Regions from separate parts of the Homo sapiens genome. Here region 1 is linked to region 2. Evidence: promoter capture Hi-C in 16 types of primary human blood cells and fetal thymus (Javierre and others, 2016). All regions are on one chromosome and are shown on one strand. Each heading gives the region's core, a stretch centred on a gene start or on the middle of the fragment in contact. The rest is flanking DNA. Distances are from core to core; before and after follow the strand shown.

Region 1 (5,596 bases), core at 614-3,113, 290 kb after region 2:
GACAAACGTTACCTGAGCGCCTGCCCACTCATTGCCCGAGTGTGCTGGGAGCGCCGCACCAACTGCCTGGTAGGTGGGAGAAGGGACACGTCAGGTAACAAACAGCACAGGTAAGTGCCGGCCACTCAAATGGGGTGGAAAGAGGTGGCACAGCGCTGCCGAGGGAGTGCGTTCCAGACAGGTGACCTCTTGCTTGGGTGCTGAATGAGTGGAGTTTTCCAGAGAGACCAAGAGGAAGCAGCCGCAGAAACCTCAGCCCAGCTGGGCTTGCAGAAGCTAATGCTAGAATAGTTGTGGGACTCAGGATCTGCTGAAGTCGGGGGAAGAGAGAAGTAGGGAAAGGAAAGCCCAGGCCACGCGTGGGGCTCAGGAACGGCATCCTCGCCCGAGGTGGGAGTTCTTCTCAGGCCCTGGTGTTTCCCATGACAGTAAAAGGTGGGGGCTTCAGATTTCTCCAAGGGAAAAGTTAAAGCAACACACACCTATTTATTTTTACTGTAATTTCAGAAAAGAGAGGTTAAAACCAAGACATGGACAAAGCCTCCGAATGAAGGCAGCCCTTTAAATGGAATAAATTTGGTTTCATGGCACATTAATGGGGTGTCTTCTCTCCGAAGACACAGAGACAACTACAGTAGGTCTGGGGGCCGTCAGGGATTGGAGGAACGAAGGTAAGAAAAGGAAGAAGGTAAGAAAAAGAGGTCCCTACCTCTGTGAGGTAGGGACAGTGCTGAACAGCAGGGCTGGGAGAGCCCACAGGGAGGTGGCCAGGATGGCCACAGGGCCTGGGGAGGACCAGGTGGGGCACCATCCTGCGGTAGAGAATGCCCGTCACCTGCCCTAGGGGCCACCCAGAATGCAGATTAAATAAGTATTTGGGAATGGCACAGGAGCTTTTCCATTTTCGTGGGTTAGAGGAAAGCTGCTGCGTTCAAGAGGATAACGTGGGACCTGAGCATTCTGGTAAGTCAACCCCACATTCATGGAAAGCCACGGGCTCTGTTTTACTGATAAGGAACTGAAGTCCCACAGAGGAAGTGGCCAGGCTCACTCACACACAGCATGCACTTGAAGCTTTCTGTGGAAATCAGAAACCTCCGGGGCTCAGGCGCTGTAGTGGTGGCCTGGTGACTCTGACCCCTTGAAGGAGAAGCATCTGTGAAGGTGCTGTCCAGGACAAGTAGGGTGCTCTACGGTAAAGGACATGGTGGCCTGACCTGCTCCAGAGCAGGGAGGCCTCCCTTGAGGAAATAAGATAAACCCAGACTTTAAGGATAAGCAGAAACCAGCTAGGTGAACTGGAGTGGGAACAGCACGTGAAAAGGCCCTGGTTTAGGAAGGAGCACCACTCCTTCAGAGCACAGAAAGGCCAGGATGGCCGAAGCATAGGGAACAACAGGAAAGTGACATAAATTGAGGCTGCAGAGGTAGAAGAAGGGCCTTATTGGTCGTGCTAGGAATTTGGAATTCTGCAAAGAAGCCTGGGAAACAGATTTTGGTGACACTCGCCTTCTCTTTAATGTGCAGTTTCAGTTCTGTTGGTGTGATTCTGCATTGGAGATGGCGTGCTGTAACGAATGGCCAGGAGCTTAAGAGTCATGCAGACTTGGGAGGCCTGGCCTTGCCACGCCCAGCTGCATGGCCATCCTCCTCCTGTTTCTGGCCGTTCTGTTTCTAAACCTTGGGGTTCTGATATTCCTACATGTAAACTAGGGGCTGTAATAGGAATCTCACAGGTGAGTCTTAGGATTATAAGAGGAGACATGACTGCATGTGTAAGACATCATAATGATGTGCTTCCTCATCTGACCCTACCTCCAGGTTCTTTGATAACCTCATGGTTCCCATTTTCTAGAACAGTTGCCACTTGCACTCAGATAAAGGTGACTCACTGAATGCATAAATAAGTGTAGTGCCGGATTTGCATACTTTTGGTAGACTGTCATATAATAAATTTATAAATCAGAATTTTAAAACTCCAGGTGGGGCCGGGCACAGTGGCCCATGCTTGTAATCCCAGCCAGCATTTTGGGAGGCTGAGGCAGGCAGATCACTTGAGGTCAGGAGCTCGAGGTCAGCCTGGCCAACCAGGGTTTTAGTAGAAACCCTGTCTGTACTAAAAATACAAAAATTAGCTGGGCGTGGGTGCGCATACCTGTAGTCCCAGCTACTCAGGAGGCTGAGGCAGGAGAATTGTTTGAACCCAGGAGGTGGAGATTGCAGTGAAGCAAGATCGCACCGCTGCACTCCTGCCTGGGTGACAGAGTGAGACTCCATCTCAAAAACAAACAAAACAAAACTCCAGGTGGACCACGGGCCAGGTGGTTGTAGCTTCAGTCCCTTGATTGCAACATGTGCCCAAGTTTGGCTGAGATGTACCTGTAGCCACGGTCCTTGAAGCCCTGAGAAGATTTGTCAGCATCCCCACGGTGCTCCAGCAGTGCTCTCATCTTGTGGCTCTAAATCGAGTCCATGGCCCTCTCTCACTGTCCTATGGTTGCATAAGCTCAGAACTGGCTTCGTCTCCAATTCCAGGAGCCCTGGAGGTTGTGGCCTGTTGACATTTTTACCTCCTGAGTCAATGTGGCTGGGCCACAGGTCTCAGTTGCCCTCCCAGGCATCTTGCAGGACTTGGATCTGTGCCAAGCTTGTGGGTGTGAACAAGCCCAAGAATGCTGAGGCTCTCAGTTGCTCAGTGCTGCCCATCACTGGGATTTCAGAGTAGTGACCCCCCTCCTCCAAGATACAACAGAATCTTGCTTTGGGGCCATGAAGAACACAATCAATATTACAGTTTTAAATCTTGAAAAGTACAGTTTTAATTTTTTTAATTCCAAAAAATTTCACACATGTGCACTGCAAATTCAGGAGGTAAATTCAGCAAAATCTTGCCTGGTGGAGGTACCAGAAGGCACAGTGAGTCAATGGGGCATGTTTCTCAGTCGGTGGGGAGAGATGAGAATGGAACAGGGATGTGGAGATTTTATGCAGGAAAAGGGGCCTGACCACAGATTTTTTGCCCTTTGAAAGGAGAGGAACAAGGCCTATGCCCACTGCCTCTTGGATTCAGTGGGAGATCTGGGCATCATACTGGATGACCAGGCATGTAGTCACAATGCACAATGCCACCCAGCCCAAAAGTGTATATTCAAGACTTTAGACCCAACTTCGTGCTTACAGGAAATAGAGGAGGTTGAGGAACAAGTGACACCATAAGAAATACAGTGAAACAGGCCAGGCACCGTGGCTCATGCCTGTAACTCTGAGCACTTTGGGAGGCCGAGATGGGCAGATCACCTGAGGTCAGGAGTTCAAGACTAGTCTGGCCAACGTGGTGAAACCCCATCTCTACTAAAAAAAAATATCTGGGCATGGTGGCAGGCACCTGTAATCCCAGCTACTCAAGAGGCTGAGGCATGAGAAGCACTGGAACCCGGGAGGCCGAGGTTGCAGTGAACAGAGATCGTGCCATTGCACTCCAGCCTGGGGGAACAAGAGTGAAACTCCATCTCAAAAAAAAAAAAAAAAGACACTGAAACAAAGCCAGAAGGTAGAATATTCTTTCAGGTAGTAGTCTGGTCTCTTCAATAGTCAATATTATAGAGCAAGAAGGGGCCAGTGGAGAAGAGCTGTTCTAGATTTTAAAAGATGTAAGAAATACAACATTTGGCCGGGCGCGGTGGCTCACGCCTGTCATCCCAGCACTTAGGTAGGCCGAGGTGGGCGGATCATGAGGTCAGGAGATCGAGACCATCCTGGCTAACATGGTGAAACCCCGTCTCTACTAAAAATAGAAAAAATTAGCCGGGCATGGTGGCATGCACCTGTAGTCCCAGCTACTCAGGAGGTTGAGGCAGGAGAATGGCGTGAACCCGGGAGGCGGAGCTTGCAGTGAGCCGAGATCGCGCCACTGCACTCCAGCCTGGGTGACAGAGCAAGACTCCATCTCAAAAAAAGAAAAGAAAAGAAATACAACATTTAAATGCACTGTGTTATCCTTAATTGGAAACTGCTTTAATTATCCAACACTAAAAAAATGTCAAGGGCAAGAGGTGGTTTGAACTATGGACTGGTGTTAGATGATGTATTTTTTTTATTTTGTTAAGTATAATAATAGTTGTTATGGTTAGGTGGGAAAAGATCCTTAAATTTTAGAGCTGCATGCTGGAGTATTTAGAAGTGAACCGTCATTGTATTTGTTATTTAAAATACTACAGGAATAAACAAGATGAAGCAAAATTGCTCAGTCTAGATATGGGTCTATGAGTGTTTCATCTTTCTACTTTTTTCTCCATGTTTGAAATCCTTGGTAAAATAAAGTCAAAGTGGAGGAAGGAGGAGCTTGAGATTGAAAAATCAGTTTGAGAAGCAGCCACCTTGACTGGCTTCACTCTAATAGCCTGGACGCTGCCTCCACACTCCAGGTGCACTGCTCAGCATTCTCCAAGAAGATCATTAAGGCAGACCCTACGTGTTAAATTTCAATCAGTTTCATTGAGCAAATATGCTGTTAAATAGAGACTGCTGTGTGCTGCGTCAGTGTGCCTTATGGGCAAATGTGATGGTGACTATAAATGCAGACCAAGCAGTCCTTCCCACACTGTGTACACAAAGAAAGGAGCTCTGGAACTGGGAGCCAGGACATCTGCAGGAGGAGAATTCTGAAGTGAAAGGAGGCCTGGATATTGGTTGCAAGGCCTTGTCCCTGGAGCCTGGATGCTCTCATACCTTCTACATCTGGGCCTCTGGGTCCAGGACAGTGCCAGGGAGAGTTCATAGAAACAAATGTGTTGAAGACCTTAGCGGTTGTCTGACTCTGAGACAGTTACCTGGCCACTCTTAAGTTTCCTCATTTTTTTTTTAATTTTACTTTAAGTTGCGGGATACATGTGCAGAACGTGCAGGTTTGTTACATAGGTATGCATGTGCCATGGTGGTTTGCTGCACCTGTCAACCTTTCATCTAGGTTTTAAGCCCCTCATGCATTAGATATTTGTCCTAATGCTCTCCTTCCCCTTGGCCCCCTGTCAGGTCCTGGTGTGTGTGTTGTCTGGCCCCCACCGTGTCCATGTGTTCCTATTGTTCATCTCCCATTTATGAGTGAGAATATGTGGTGTTTGGCTTTCTCTTCCTGTGTTAGTTTGCTGAGGATGATGGTTTCCAGCTTCATCCATGTCCCTGCAGAGGACATGATCTCATCCTTTTCATGGCTGCATAGTATTCCGTGTTGTGTATATACCACATTTTCTTTATCCAGTCTTTCATTGGTGGACATTTGGGTTGGTTTCATGTCTTTGCTATTGTAAATAGTGCTGCAATAAACATTATGTGTGCATGTGTCTTTATAGTAAAATGATTTCTATTCCTTTGGGTATATACCCAGCAATGGGATTACTGGGTCACATGATATTTTTTGGTTCTAGGTCCTTGAGGAATCGCCACACTGTCTTCCACAATGGTTGAACTAATTTACGTTCCCACCATCAGTGTAAAAGTGTTCCTATTTCTCCACAGCCTCACCAGCATCTACTGTTTCTTGACTTTTTAATCACTGCCATTCTGACTGGCAAGATTTCCTCATTTTTAAGATAGTGTG
Region 2 (5,553 bases), core at 1,551-4,050:
TGTTTGACTTGTATATTCTTGACTTTTTAATGTGGAAATTGAGACCTCAAACTCACTATACCATAGGGGTGGAATTCCAGCAATTCTCTGTACAACCCCTGCACAATTCCAAGAAGAAGGCAAAAGAAGAGAGACGTGGATATTTTGCTTAGTTAGCCGTCTTGAACTTTCCCTTATTTTTATTCCTCTGCTTTTAGGAAATCCCACTTGAAAAGTAGCTATTTTCTCCTTTGCAAGTCTATCTTTTTCAACAAAAATCTTAAGCAAAATATAAAAAGCCAATACCAATTGATTCCTAAAATGAATCTATCAAGTTTCACTTTTTTTTTTTCCTGAGGAAGCCGAGCATATTGACTCATTCTAGACCCTAAAAATATGCCTACATCCCATCTATTAAAAAAAAATGCAAGAGGGATCTGTGGGCAGGAAGATGGCTGAAACTCCCTTCTCTCCAGCCAGCCCCCAGCATGATGCTTGCTTTAAAGCCTGGAGCATGATGACACACACCTCACCCATGTGGAATATCTCTCCAGAGCCAAAGGTAAGGTGAGGCAAGTTTTCACCAATATTTTGATTTGTGATGCTGAAGACATGCACTTAAGCACTACAATATGTAAATGGTTTCCTACTTCAAAAAAAAAAAAAAGAAGCGATGCCAATGATTTTAATAGACTTAGCAAAACAACTGTAAGTCTACTACACAATTGAACAACTCTAAGCAGTCCTGATGATGCTACAGAATTCCGTTATACTCTCCTCTTCATGTAAGTGGATTTTCTAACCTGCCAATTACGGCTTTCCATTTTCTTCCTGGAGTTATACATCATGCGAATCTCAGATAGCACTGTCCTTGGAGCTGTTTTCTTGCCAGTTCACAGTGCCACCTGTGGCTGAGCACTGCCTTGCTGGGCATGCATTTATGTTGACCTGTTTTCACTCTTGGTCCCGGAAAACTTCAGCCTTCTGATACTACCAGCCCAATGCCCAAGTTTCCTGGCAGCTTTATTTACAGTCACTTTAAAAGACGGAAGGCAGATTTCAATTTTATGGATTGCCAATAAAGTAAGATTTACAGAAGTTCCCCAGACCACTGGGAAAATTACTGGAGCCCACAGCTGCAACAGCACATCCCCAAGGGAACATGCTGGAGAGTGGCAACTTCTCCTATCTGGTTTTAAACGTCCCCAACTCCTATACATTCCCTTCCCAGGCCCCTTCCAGGCAGAAGAGGGGACTGCAGTTTCCATACTGCTCACACAAAATTAAGCATCTCTTTCCAGCCAGCTCCCAACAGCCTCCCTGGTAAGCTGGAAAATCAGCTTGGGGGATCTGAGTTAAGAAGAACAACAAGAAGAGTGAGGTGGGCAGAGTTTGGATCCACAGGCTCAGGACTCCCGTCCTGGGCATATCTGGATCCCCAAGGCTGGCAAAATTGTATACCAAAGGATGCTGCGGGGTAAAGAGGGAAATAGATGACATTTTAGATTTTTTTTTCTTCTGAAATGTCTGGACACACTGCCCAAAGCATCCACATACAAAGAAGGTATTTCGTATAAAGTCATTTATAAAAAACAGACACTCTATAAGGCAGTGATAGGCTCAGTTCAGCTCAGCGAACAAGGATGGAGCTATGGCTTGGTCACAGGCACAGAGCTGGTGCTAGGTGCAGAGACTCAGGGATGTATAGGCAAAGAGGTCTCACTGCCCACTGATGTGTCTGGAGAGGTGGGTGGGTGAAGGGACTTTCCATTTGTCCTCCCAATTTCCTCTCCGAAGCCTGTCCCTTCCCTGGGGTCCACTACTTCTCTGACCTTTCCTGAGAAACAGACTAATAAATGTGGCTACTTACATTTTACATTACATTCTAGGAGCAAATCCAGGGGGCCAGGAGCCCTGCACTCGGCTGGCTGCTTAGTCCCTGGCCCAGACCCCAGGGCCTGACAGGCATCAGAGGGGCCCCTGGGTCTGCTGCTCTGAGCTCAAAACACCCAATACTCTTTGGTGGGTGGGAAATTAAGGGCGGGGATAGCTCCGTGTGCATCCTAGGTCTTTTCCTCTCCCAAGAGAATTCTACTCTGCCACAAAGGAACTCAGCCTCTGCGCCCTGTGGCTTCTGCTGACGGGTGGTGTGTGCTCTGGATGGGGGGTAGGGTTCCTGGCTAGGAGTGGCAGTGGCGCCTGCTCTGGAGTGTCCCTAAATGTCAGCATGCAACATTACCAGGCAGGCCCTCCCACTTCAGTCCTCAGGCCACTCATAGGACCTCCTGTCCCCATGTAGAGAGGCTGACACCAGGTTGGAGCCAGCACTGAAAGGATCCCCGAACTCCTGCTTCTACAAGGCAGCATCCGCAGGTGAGCGGCCAGGCACCTACAAGACACGCACCCTTCAAGCCTGGCTTCCCAAAGCCCCGCCGGGCCAGGCTGGCTGGCACAGCAGACAGTCATGCAGCAGGGTCCCCAGCGACCCCCCATCCCTGAGAGAACACACGGAGTCCCCCGCCCGCCAGCTGCTCCGGAGGCGGCTCCAGGGTAGACTCAACAAGTTCCCGGGCCATGCAGCGCCGCCTGCAGCCCAGAAACCCGGAGGACGCGCTGTGGCGGAGCCCCGCGCGCAGGCGGCAGCCGGCGGCAGCCGGCGGCAGCTCCTTCCACCTCCTCCTCCTCTTCCTCCTCCTCCTCCAGCTCTGGCGGCGGCGGGAGGGGGCTCCTCCACTCCCTCCCTATCCCCCACCCCACGCACGCGGCCCGGCCCGGCCCGGCCCCGCGCCGCCCCCGCCCCACCTCCGCCCCGCGGGGCCCGGGGCTCCGCCCGCCTCGGTGCCAGCCGGGCGCACAGGCGGCAGGCGCGCGGCTTGGGGCGCCCTCGCCTCTGGCCGCCCGGCTCCGCGGAGTAGCTGGGACCTGGAGCAGCGGAAAGGACTTCCCTCCTGCTCCCTCCTCTGCCCCGCCCCCGCCTCCTGGCCCTGGCTCTGAGATCTCGCCGAAGACAATTGCAGTAAATGAGGACATCGGAGGAGCGCGAAGCCGGGTGGCTGTGGCTGGCTCCGCCGCGTCGCGAGCAAGCGAGCGCGCGGGCGTCCCCGGAGCTGGCCCAGCCGCTGCCTCCCCGCGCGCGTCGCTAAGCGGGGCCGGAGGGACGCGAGCGACGCGAGCTGCGGCGCGGGGGCCGGCCGGGCCAGCAGGGCCGGGCCGGCAGCGGTGGAGGGGGCGGGCAGCAGGCGCGCAGCGGGCCAAGTCCCCGGAGCCGAGGCTTCCTCCGCGTGAGCGCGGCGAGTCTGGCCGCGGATGCCCTGTCCGGAGTGCTCCGTGCCGCCCCAGGCTTGCCAGGGTCCGCAGCGAGACATGCCCGAGCCAGGCGCTGCATCGACCTCGACTTATCTGTAAGCAGCGGAAGGTAAGCGGAGCCCCGCGTGCCCTCCTCCCGCGCCCCCGCGCCCGTCGTACTTGGCCGCGGGCAGAGCACCGCTGGGACGGGCGCCGACCCCGATTCGGGCGCACACACTCGGCCCCAAACCGGCTTGGCCGGAAACTCGGCGGCTCCCGGGGCCGGGACACCCCGGTGCAGCCGGGAGCGGACCCGGTGCGGTCGCAGGTGGGGGGCAAGGTTATGCAACTGCATCTGGCGCGACCGGGTCGCTGAGGGGCGTCTGGCAACTTTGGCGACGTCAGGGAGGAGCGGGGCTGCGCCTCTGCGATGTGGGTTCCAGACAGACGCCACAGCTTCGTGAGCGCCCGACAGCCCTAGCCAGGCAAAACTGGGAGATCTGGGGGCGGCCGTCTCCCCGGAAGGTTTCGAGGCTTTTAAGTATTTTCCAAACTAAAGCGCCCTGGAAAGTACAAGTACGGCTGATTAACTTCGGGGGGGGGATGAGTTGGAACAGAGGGGCCCTGACGCCGGCCGTTGAGGAGAGGCGCGAGCAGCAGTGAAGGCAGATGCCCACGTGAAATGCTCGTCTCCTCCACTCGCTGGGGTTGGCACCTTCCCGGGGCTGCGGGTTGGGGTCGGCGCCGCGGGGCTTCCCGGTGCCTGGCAGCCCGAGTCAGACCGGGACAGGCGTGGGAAACCAACCAACGCTGCAGACCTAAGAGACTGCGAGCTGGCGGGCGAGGGCAGGAGGGAGGAGGGAGCCCGCGGGCAGCCCGGGGTCGGGGCAGCTCCTGGAGCCCAAAGTCAAGAGCGAGAGTCTGCATCTTGCTGGTTCATGCTCAGGGCTCCAGGCTGATGTCCCCACTGCTTGGATAAAGAGCCGCTCCCTGTGACCTCAGCATTCTACTACCCAAAAATATGCCACAGGGAGAGGGAGCCAGTGATAAAGAGATGCCAGGAGTGGGGGAGGAGAGGTGCCTCTGGAGTAAATAGGAGAGAAAATGGGTGCGTTTTGCTTATCTACAGCCCAGGGCTCCCGCCCGGACCCCTCTCCTGCTGTTGGTCTGTGCTGGGGAGCTGCACGCGCTCTGGGCCCCTGCGCCAGAAGCAGCGGTGAAGCGGTTTACTTTGACCTTGTCTGCTTAGGCGCTGAAATTCTGCGGAAGCATCCCGAGGTGAAACTGCAAGAGTGGGAATGAACTTTGGGGGAGCCCTGCCTTGGCTGGGAAGCCAAACGATCATTTCAGAAGACTACAGCTCAGGATAGCACAGGGTAGACGTCTGTGCACTTGAACGCTCCCCCCTCAACGAGGACTTGCTAGAGGGTTACCTTTCCATGCCTTATCTCAGTGGGGGGACTGTCAGAGTGACTGCGCTGGCTGGGTACTTGATGAAAAAATACCACTCACAAGACCCGGGCCATTCCCAGAGTAGTACATACATGAAAATGATATAACCCTTATTAAGCTTACGCTACAGCAAGTTACCGTCATTTCACTATGCAGAGGCGGAAAGTGCTGGTTTTTACTATTCCCCCACACTGTACTATTTCTTACATTCATATCCTGTTGAATGTTACTTTTGAAAGTTCATATTTATCTTTGCAATTTTTTTGCAAGAATGATTAGCAAACATGCACAAGGAGCTCAAAGAAAAAATGGAAGTCCTGCCATCTGCATGCCTCACCAGATATTAATCATTTACTATCCATGTTTACTACTTACATTAGATGGCACTGCTCCTCACGATGGTTTTATTAGAGGCGCATTTGGTTAAGGAAAAGAAAAAGTCTAGCACAGCTATCACTAATTGCATGATTTTGCATAAATTACATTAGCCATGGAGAGTTTTGTTTTCTTCACTAAATTCATCATTTTGTTTAAAAGACTAAACAATTCAGTTTAATTTCTTTAGCTAAATGAAAGACTTTTCCTTAAAGACAAGATGTCCTTGAAAAGCTACATATGTCTTTAAACTTATTACAGTTGCCACGACTTTGTATTTTATCATTGTGATTAAGACTTTGAGCTTTCATGTAAGTCAGGCCCTTTATCCTATTAAGAAACAGAATTACTGGTTAAGAAATAGGCTAACAAGGCAAAAGCTGGGAAGCTCCATGTCTGCACAATGAGATTTCTGCAAGCTCTATGGGAGGCTGGGTACTCTATTACTCTGTTTACTTCGGG

Evidence for each region. Contacts are between HindIII fragments. The CHiCAGO score rates a contact against its expected background, and 5 or more counts as called.
Region 1: a fragment that was not itself captured here is called in contact with the fragment with the promoter of INSYN2A in region 2 in 1 of 17 cell types (megakaryocytes); the score reaches 5.3 in megakaryocytes.

What each region holds. Positions count from the first base shown.
Region 1 is chr10:126,899,354-126,904,949 of GRCh38, reverse strand. LOC105378550 (a long non-coding RNA gene) reads left to right here. Exons shown (of 2, transcript XR_946449.3): 1 at 1-390; 2 at 508-4,239. Among named protein-coding and RNA genes, the nearest start is that of DOCK1, 3.3 kb to the left of the region's middle. The HindIII fragment of the contact is 1,573 bases long and covers 1,077-2,649 here.
Region 2 is chr10:127,193,838-127,199,390 of GRCh38, reverse strand. INSYN2A (inhibitory synaptic factor 2A) reads left to right here and starts at 2,800. Exons shown (of 6, transcript NM_001039762.3): 1 at 2,800-3,394. The region is part of intron 27 of DOCK1 (dedicator of cytokinesis 1); the gene reads right to left. The HindIII fragment of the contact is 7,592 bases long and covers 1-4,836 here.